2 separate regions of the Homo sapiens genome follow, and region 2 is linked to region 1. The links are contacts of gene promoters, found by promoter capture Hi-C in blood cells and fetal thymus (Javierre and others, 2016). All regions are on one chromosome and are shown on one strand. The core of a region is centred on a gene start or on the middle of the fragment in contact, and the rest is flanking DNA. Distances in the headings are between cores, read along the strand shown. Region 1 holds the start of PITPNM3 (PITPNM family member 3). Region 2 has its middle 28 kb from the start of NLRP1.

Region 1 (3,884 bases), core at 1,352-3,851:
TGAGGAATATGTGATTCTCATACACACATTACTGTGTGTTGTTTTTGATTCAGTAGGCTTATGAGCATCAAGAAGAGAAGGGAGACCAGGCGCAGTGCCTCACACCTGTAATCCCATCACTTTGGGAGGCTGAGGCAGGCAGATCATTTGAGGTCAGGAGTTCAAAACCAGCCTGGCCAACATGATGAAACCTTCGTCTCTACTAAAAATACAAAAATTAGCTGGATGTGGTGGTATGTATCTGTAGTCCCAGTTACTTGGGAGGCTGAGGCAGGAGAATCGCCTCAGCCCAGGAGGCGGAGGTTGCAGTGAGCCGAGATCAAGCCATGCCCTCCAGCCTGGGAGACAGACCGAGACTCCATCTCAAAAAAAAAAAAAAAAAAAAAGGAGAGAAGGGACATTTACAAAATGCAGAGGAGCCTGGGAGAGCTGAGCTGAGAAGGGAGAGGTAACCAGACTCCTTGGGATGACTGCTGAGTGTGGGGGGCAGGAGCCCAGGCACTGGATCTACAGACACGGGGAATCTGTGTTGCCTCGAGGGAAAGGGCCAAGCGTGAAATTGCAGCAGAAAAAAACCAAAATGTTAGAACAGCACAAGGCATTGATGCTCAGAGCAGGGCAGTTTTTCCACCTGTCACTGGAACAAATTCCCACAGACTCTCAGCCCAGGGACCAAAGGACCCACAGGCTAAGGCAGAGGGACTGAGACTGGCACCCCCATTTGGTAAGGGGGTGACCTATCAGGGCAGTGACAGAGAGAGTCCTTCGAGTCCAATAGACCTGGCTGTGAGTCCAGGCTCTGCCCAGACCCTCTAAGCCACCTTGAGGCTGCTATTTCTCTGAGTATCTGTTTCTAGATGTTTTAAAAGTGGGAGAGTCGCATTTCCTCCCTCCCAGGATCACGGTACAGTAAAGAGCTTAGCACTCTGCCTAATACATAGAACAAGCAGCAAATGTTCACTGCCGTTGCGATGACAGTGCCCTGGCAGGTGACCTGTGCTCAAGGCGTCCCAGTGCACACACACACTCACACACACACAGGGTAGGGCAGCAGATGGGACACACGCCCTGCCACAGGCCATTTTAAGGAGTCGGGGTGGGTGAGGACCCAGGCACGGTGGAGGAAAGAGGGAGGCAAGAAGCCTTTTTCAGCTTCCTTGGTGTCATCTCACAGTGCCTCCCTCAGGAGGGGAAAAGGGAGGGGAGTGAGAAGGCTGTTTAGCTGTGTTCCATACTGGCTGTGCCTCACACAACCGGCCCCACCCCGACAGGACTCCTTGGGGACAGAACGGGAGTGCATTCTCAGGCACCTAAATCTTACAGGCTCAGTGCCTGCACAGGGAGACGGGTCCGCAGCCCAGGGTCCCGGGCAGCTTTCGGGCTTGGGGGTGGATTGACACACAGCCCGATGGTATTCACACCCATTCCTTCACTGTCGCGCCCGGTCCTGGGGGACGGCATGGCACCAGCCAACGTCACGGGTTGGGTGTGAGTTCATGGTAGATTCTCACACGCCAGCCTCACAAGAGGCACTGCCGAGACCAGGCTTGCTGCCGCCTACTGTATGGCCGGCCCTGTGGGCACAGCTGTCCTCCACCCGCCTCCCAAGGCACCATCGGGCCCAGAATGTGCCCGATGAGTCACGGGCCTGGGTCTCCCCAGCATGGGCGCAGCAGGGGGGCTGAGTCCGCCTGAGCCCCGGTGCCCAGCTCAGGGTCTGGCACAGAGCAGATGCTAGTGAATGAACGTCGGGCTGGATGAATGAACGAATGACTAATGCCCGCTCCCTCAAACCACAGGCTACACCGTCTGAGCCTGGGGGAGGGCAGAGCCCACGGGACCCCAGAAGAGGCCTCCGCAGCTGAGGCTTTGCGTCCCAGGGTCGATGGGGGAGGGGGCGGGGCGGCCAGCAGCCGGCGCGGCACGGGGCTCCCCTCCTTCCCGAGAAGGAATCTGGGTCTCTGGACTGAGCTGGTGACGGGGGCTGGGGCGGGGGGTTGTGGCGTCCTGGATGGAGAGAGCTGCAGGAGCAGGGGGCGCGTCCCGGTTTGCGTTGGGGTGTGGGACGAAGCGGCGGCCGCGGGACATCCCCTTCGGTGGCGAAGCCCGGGTCTGCCCGGGGCCTCCGCGGGGTGCAGAGGGCTCCCAACGGCGGGACTGGCCCGGGGCGCCGCAGACCTGGCCCTTTCCGGCGGGGCCGTGGAGAAGGGGACGCGGTGTCCCCCGAGGTGACCGGGGGCGCAGGAAGGACGGGGGGCGCGCGGAGCCCCCTCTCCACGCGCGGGAGGTCCAGCCCCGCTACCGCCCCCTACGCCCTCCCGGGACCTCCGCCCACCTGCGCGAGGGGTTCACCTGGGCCGGCGGCCCCTCCTCTAGACGCGCGAGTCCCTCCCCCGGGCCCCGGCCCTGCCCTCCCCGCGCCCGCCCTCACCTGCACGGCCCGCCTTGGCCATGTCCCGGGCGGCGGGCTCCGGCGGCGCTACGCGCGCTCCTCGCGCTTCCCGGGCCCGGCCCCGACCGCCTCCGGCCCCGAACGGACTCCGAGCGCCGCGCCCGCGCCCCCGCCCCGCTCGCCTCGGCTGCCGCCACCGCAGCCGCCGCCGCCTCGCCGCTCCCTCCCGCTCCCTTAAAGGCGCCGAGCGGCGGCCGCGCCCCCCCCCCACCCCACCCCCCGCGCCGCCGGGGAGGGACTGACGAAGGAAGGCGCCCAACGCCGCCCCCGCGGGCCCGCACCCCCGCCCCGGGCCGTGGCCGCCGCGCTCCAGCCCGCTCCGCTCCGGCCCGCGCGGCCACCGCAGCGCGCGAGGGGCGGCAGCCCAGGGGCTCAGAGACGCGGAGACAGCCCGAGACACTGCGGGCCAGAGACGGGGCCCTGGACTGGGAGAGGGGCGCACAGACTATTAGACAGCGCTGGAGAGAGACGCTCCTAGGGCCAGAACGCCGAGGTGGAGGGAGAGAGAGAGAAATTCAGAGGAGACCAGAGACCCAGAGCCCGGCTCCGGCTCCGGGAGAGACGGACAGAGGGAGCGGAGAGAGGAAGGAGGACAGGGATCCAAGGGAGGCCCCCACGAAGTCAAGAGGAAAGTCGCTCTGGGATCAGAGACAAGAGAGGGACCCCCTCCATCAGCCCCCGCTCCAGGGGTTCTGGATCATTTATGGCGTCTGACCTAACCTCAAAAGAGAAAGGATTCCCGTGATTTTAACCCTCAAGGGATAAGTAAAACACTTGCACATCCACCTGGGGTTCTAGGCTGGAGCAGGCTTTGTGGACCCCAGCGGCCTGGTGGTGAGCAGTACCCGCCTTCCACTTCCTAAATCGGGATGCAGAGATTCTAGTGGACAGGCCTTGTGGTCCGGGGAGATATGGGTTATGACTTCTGTTTAGGGGCAGCAGGGATCCACAGTCCAGCCCCAAAAGAGAGCAGGAGATGGCCAATTGTATTTGGCGGTGCCTGAGAGGTAACAACCCTCCACTGAGAGGGTGCCCTGCCTCCCCCAGGAATTGGTAAGGCTGAAGCCCAGTTACCATCTGTAGAGCCAGGCACCCAACCCACCCTGTCCCACTCCACTTAACAGGGAAAAGGTCAACTGGAGAATTCCATCCATGGTCCAGGCTCCAGGGTCCTGCAAGCTCCTCTATGGAAACAGGGCACACATGGGGTTAGATGGGGGCTCTCAGTCCAGTGCCTTCTCTGGGGCTTTGACTCCATTCACAAGATTCCTGCTAAGCAGTCCTCCAGCTCCTGGTTGGTTACCTCCAAGGACAGGAAGCTCAGTATCTTAAGTGAGAGTTCTTCCTTTTATTAATTTTTTTTTTTTTTTTTTGGCTAGTGCTGGCCTTAAGAATGTTCTTACTCGTTTGAGCTGAAATCTACAACCCGCAT
Region 2 (4,078 bases), core at 1,100-3,599, 940 kb before region 1:
TTCATCACTCATTCCTTCCCCCTGAATCTCCAATCCACAGGCAAATGAGTGAGAAAGTAAGTGCTTGTTGTTGTATGACACTGAGCTTTTGTGGTTGTCATGCAGCAATAGCTGACCGATACAGTAATTGGTATCTGAAGTGGAATGCTTTCATAACAAAAACCTGAAATACGTGGCACTGGTTTTGAGACTGGGTGGCAGGTGGTGAGGGAAGTGTTGTAGGAGGCTAGTAAAATGGCACTCATGTTATGTAATGGCAAAACGTTTGGCAAAGCTGTCACTTGGAATAGTCTGGAAGGTAAAGAATGTGCCTGAAGCATTTGTCACATTGGATGAAAAAAATCTGGGGCAGGATGTTGAAAGTATGTGCTGACTACTGCTAATTGCATTAAGCTCAAGGAGGAAGTGGCCGGCTTGCAAGCAGAATTTTAAGGAACTATAAAGAGGCCAGAAATTGCACGGTGGGAAAACAAAACAATGTCTTACCAAACCGGAGGTGTGGCCACTACGATATAGCCTTGGGAGATAAAATTTAGGGGTTTCCTCTGTAAGATTTTTGTTGTTTGTTTTGCAGCCAAAGCTGACTGATGGGTACTCTACCAGTCACTTTGCATGCATTATCTCATTTAACCCTTATAATAATCCCAGAATGTAGATGTGATTATTTCCATTTCACAGATGCTGAAACTGAGGTGTAGAAAGGTTCTGAAACAGGCCCAAGGTCACACAGCTATGTGAGGCAGAGCCAGAGTTAGAACTCAGTGGTGGAGGCTGGGCTCGGTGGCTCACGCCTGCAATCCCAGCACTGTGGGAGGCTGAGGCGGGCAGATTGCCTGAGGTCAGGAGTTTGAGACCAGCCTGGCCAACATGGTGAAAGGCTGTCTCTACTAAAAATACAAAAATTAGCTGGGCGTGGTGGCGCCTCTGATCCCAGCTACTCAGGAGGCTGAGGCAGGAGAATCGCTTGAACCTGGGAAGGGGAGATTGCAGTGAGCTGAGATGGCACCATTGCACTCCAGCCTAAGCGACAGGGGGAGACTCCATCTCAAAACAAAAAACAAAAAACAAACAAACAACAACAAAAAAACCTCAGTGGTGGATCTGACCCTAAAACCCATACTCTTACCAGCAAGCTTTTCTGCCTCTCATCCTGCAAACGCTGCCGTTCTCCTTACTCTGAATGTGTGTGAGTGTGGTAGGCAGAATAATGGACCTCCAAATATGTCCCCATCCCAGTCCCTGGAAATGACAAAGAGGAATTAAGGTTGCAGATGGAATTAAGGTTGCTAATCATCTGACCTTCAGAAAGGGAGATTATCCTGGATGATCTGGGTGGGCTCAATGTAATCACAAGGGTCGTTATAAATAGAAGAGAGAGGATCAGAGAGACCTTTGAACTGCTATGCTGCTGGCCTTGAAGATAGAGGAAGGGGCCATGAGCCAAAGAATGCACACAGCCTTCAGAAGCTGGAAAAGGCAAGGACACAAATTCTCCCCTAGAGCTTTCAGAAGGAACGCAGGCTTGCTGACACTGTGATTTTAGCCTCGTAGTCTCATTTTGGAGTTCTGACCTCCAGAACTCTAAGATGACAAATTTGAGTCACGAAGTTTGTGGTAGTTGGTTACAAATAGCAACAGGAAACCAATACGAGTATTCCTAAATGTGTGCTTTATGTGTATGCACAACATGTCCTTTTGTTTTGAGACAGAGTCTCACTCTGTCGCCCAGGCTGGAGTGCAGTGGCGCGATCTCAGCTCACTACAGCTTCCGCCTCCCGGGTTCAAGTGATTCTCCTGCCTCAGCCTCTGGAGTAGCTGGGATCACAGGCACGTGCCACTAAGCCTGGCTAACTTTTGTATTTTTAGTAGAGACGGGGGTTTCACCACACTGGTCAGGCTGGTCTCGAACTCCTGACCTCAGGTGATCAGCCTGCCTTGGCCTTCCAAAGGACTGGGATTACAGGCGTGAGCCACTGTGCCCGGCCCAACATGACTTTCTAAGTGTATACCTCTCCATAAAAGTCTACATGTCTTGGGTAAGGGGAGCCCTTTTGGTGGCGAAATAGGGGTGAAGAAGCCAGCAGATTCCTAGGACGGCTGCAAGCTTCAGCTATTCCTTTATTAGTTGGCCACAACACATACAGCACTGTAATTGAACTCAGCAAGCATGATATGCCTGAGACCCACAGGTAAGTATCTATGTGAGTGAGTGGTATAGCCATCCGTGTTCAGGTACTCACACACGTGTGTGAATATTCATACGTGCACCTGTGTGAGTGAACATGTCATCTTTGCTCGTGTGTGTGTAGACAGATGTGTCTATGTATGTGTATGACTATGTGCAGGCATGTGTGTACATGGGTGCGCATGCATAAGGCACTTGAGAACACATATGTACACCTCTGTGTGTTATGTGTGTTGTGTGCACATGCGTGCACCCTGGATTCACTTGGGCATTTTGGGCCTGAGATTAGAACCCTCCTAACCCATTTATCTGGCACCTTCCTGAGCCAGGCCCTGGGTAGAGACGTAGCACAGGAGCCCTTGACAGGAATCATTAATTTGCTCTTTTCTCCCTGGGGCTGGAGTAAAATGAAGCTTGTTTTCCATTTCTACACAATGAGAAGAAGTGTATCGATTTTTCCTCACTTCTGATTGTTCACATTAGGGGCTTGTTTCTAAATAATTGACACTACGATCATTCGTTTTACTGCACAAACATATTTTACGGGTCACTTTTCCCTTTGAGCCATAGTCCTGGGTGGACCTGAAACAAGTCCATTTTGTAGACTGGTGTTTCTCTGCATGGAGAACATCCCTCAAAGAGCAGGTTCAGCTGCTCTGGTGGCCCCCTTGCAATTGTATTTGTTCACACATTAATTTGTCCAAAAGATTGCACTGAGCGCCAGTGCTGTGTGGACAGAATCTAGGCAGTGGGTGTGGGCTGGGGTAGAGGAGCACTAGTGGGTCCTTGCTTGCTGAAGCAATCAGTCGGGCCTGAAGTGCTAGCCTCAGACGGAAGTGCTTCCTTCCATCCACCTTAGGAAGCAGTAAGGAAATTCACGGGCTCAAGGAAAAGCAGGAGGAAGAGGGAGGGACAGAGTCAAAGCCCCCAGCTGTCAAGGTCCCCTCTCCTAGCTTTGCTCATGTCACACTGACTTTTCAAAGGATGCTGCCCAATCATCCATAACCAATCATCCTTATGCTTGAAAAATAGCTTAGCCCCCCTCAGGCTTCTCTGAGTCCCCAAACTGGAAGGACACCTCCCTCCTCAGTCCATCTCCCCCAGGGTCAGCATCTGAACCTCGTTCCTTACGTTCTGATTTGGGTTTCAACGTGAGTTCCTTGGGATGTAATTTCTTTGAGGTCAGAAGCCACCCCTTCCTCACCGTCTCTCCAGCTTCCGCAGGGGAGTTTCCAGTGCTGCTACCCATACAGTTGGATCACCCTCATTCCCTGGACTTGTGAAATCCCGAGAGAAGGAGCTGGGATGGAAAGTGGTGACCACCACTCCCAGCCCTGCTCTCTGTTTTTCTGGACTTCTAGTACTGACCCTCCACGCCCACCCTTGGGTTGATGTGGTCTCTCTAAGGTCTTCTCAGTGTGACTCTAGGCTAATTTTCCTTTTTTGAAAGTGGTGCTGAGAACAGTAATTTCTTTTCTTGTATGGGTGACCCCTTCATGGACAGTTCAGATTTCCAAGCTTTGGTGCCACATCCTGCAACCCAGTGAGGAGGAGAAGGGAAGGTCCGGGCTGAAAGGCTTACAGCTTCCCACTGCCCCTGCAGGGTAGGCTCCAGTCTGGCTGCCTGTGAGCCCCTGAGCAACTGGGTCAACCTTGTCTGCTCAGGGGAGGGTTGCTCCTGATTCTTGCAGGAGGCCTCAGCTGGTGCAACAGCAGTGGCAGGTTTTGGGGGGCATCTCCTATCTCTTCATATGGCCCCAGAGAGAGAGAGACAGAGACTCATGGGACTTTCTTATACAGGCTGAAGCCAGGAATGCTAGTTGCCTCCCTAATATCCATTCTCTTCTTTGTTCTTCATAACAGAGCCCCAATTCTATTTCGTGTGGCAATGGG

The links. The method cuts DNA at HindIII sites, captures the fragments that hold promoters and counts their contacts. A CHiCAGO score of 5 or more calls a contact.
Region 2: a contact is called between a fragment that was not itself captured here and the fragment with the promoter of PITPNM3 in region 1, in 2 of 17 cell types (M1 macrophages and total B cells). The highest score is 6.3, in M1 macrophages.

The regions. Positions count from the first base shown.
Region 1 is chr17:6,553,954-6,557,837 of GRCh38, forward strand. PITPNM3 (PITPNM family member 3) reads right to left here and starts at 2,602. Exons shown (of 20, transcript NM_031220.4): 1 at 2,432-2,602. The coding sequence starts at 2,453. RefSeq lists an enhancer at 867-1,513. The HindIII fragment of the contact is 11,474 bases long and covers 1-3,884 here.
Region 2 is chr17:5,610,795-5,614,872 of GRCh38, forward strand. No RefSeq gene overlaps it. Among named protein-coding and RNA genes, the nearest start is that of NLRP1, 28 kb to the left of the region's middle. The HindIII fragment of the contact is 494 bases long and covers 2,103-2,596 here.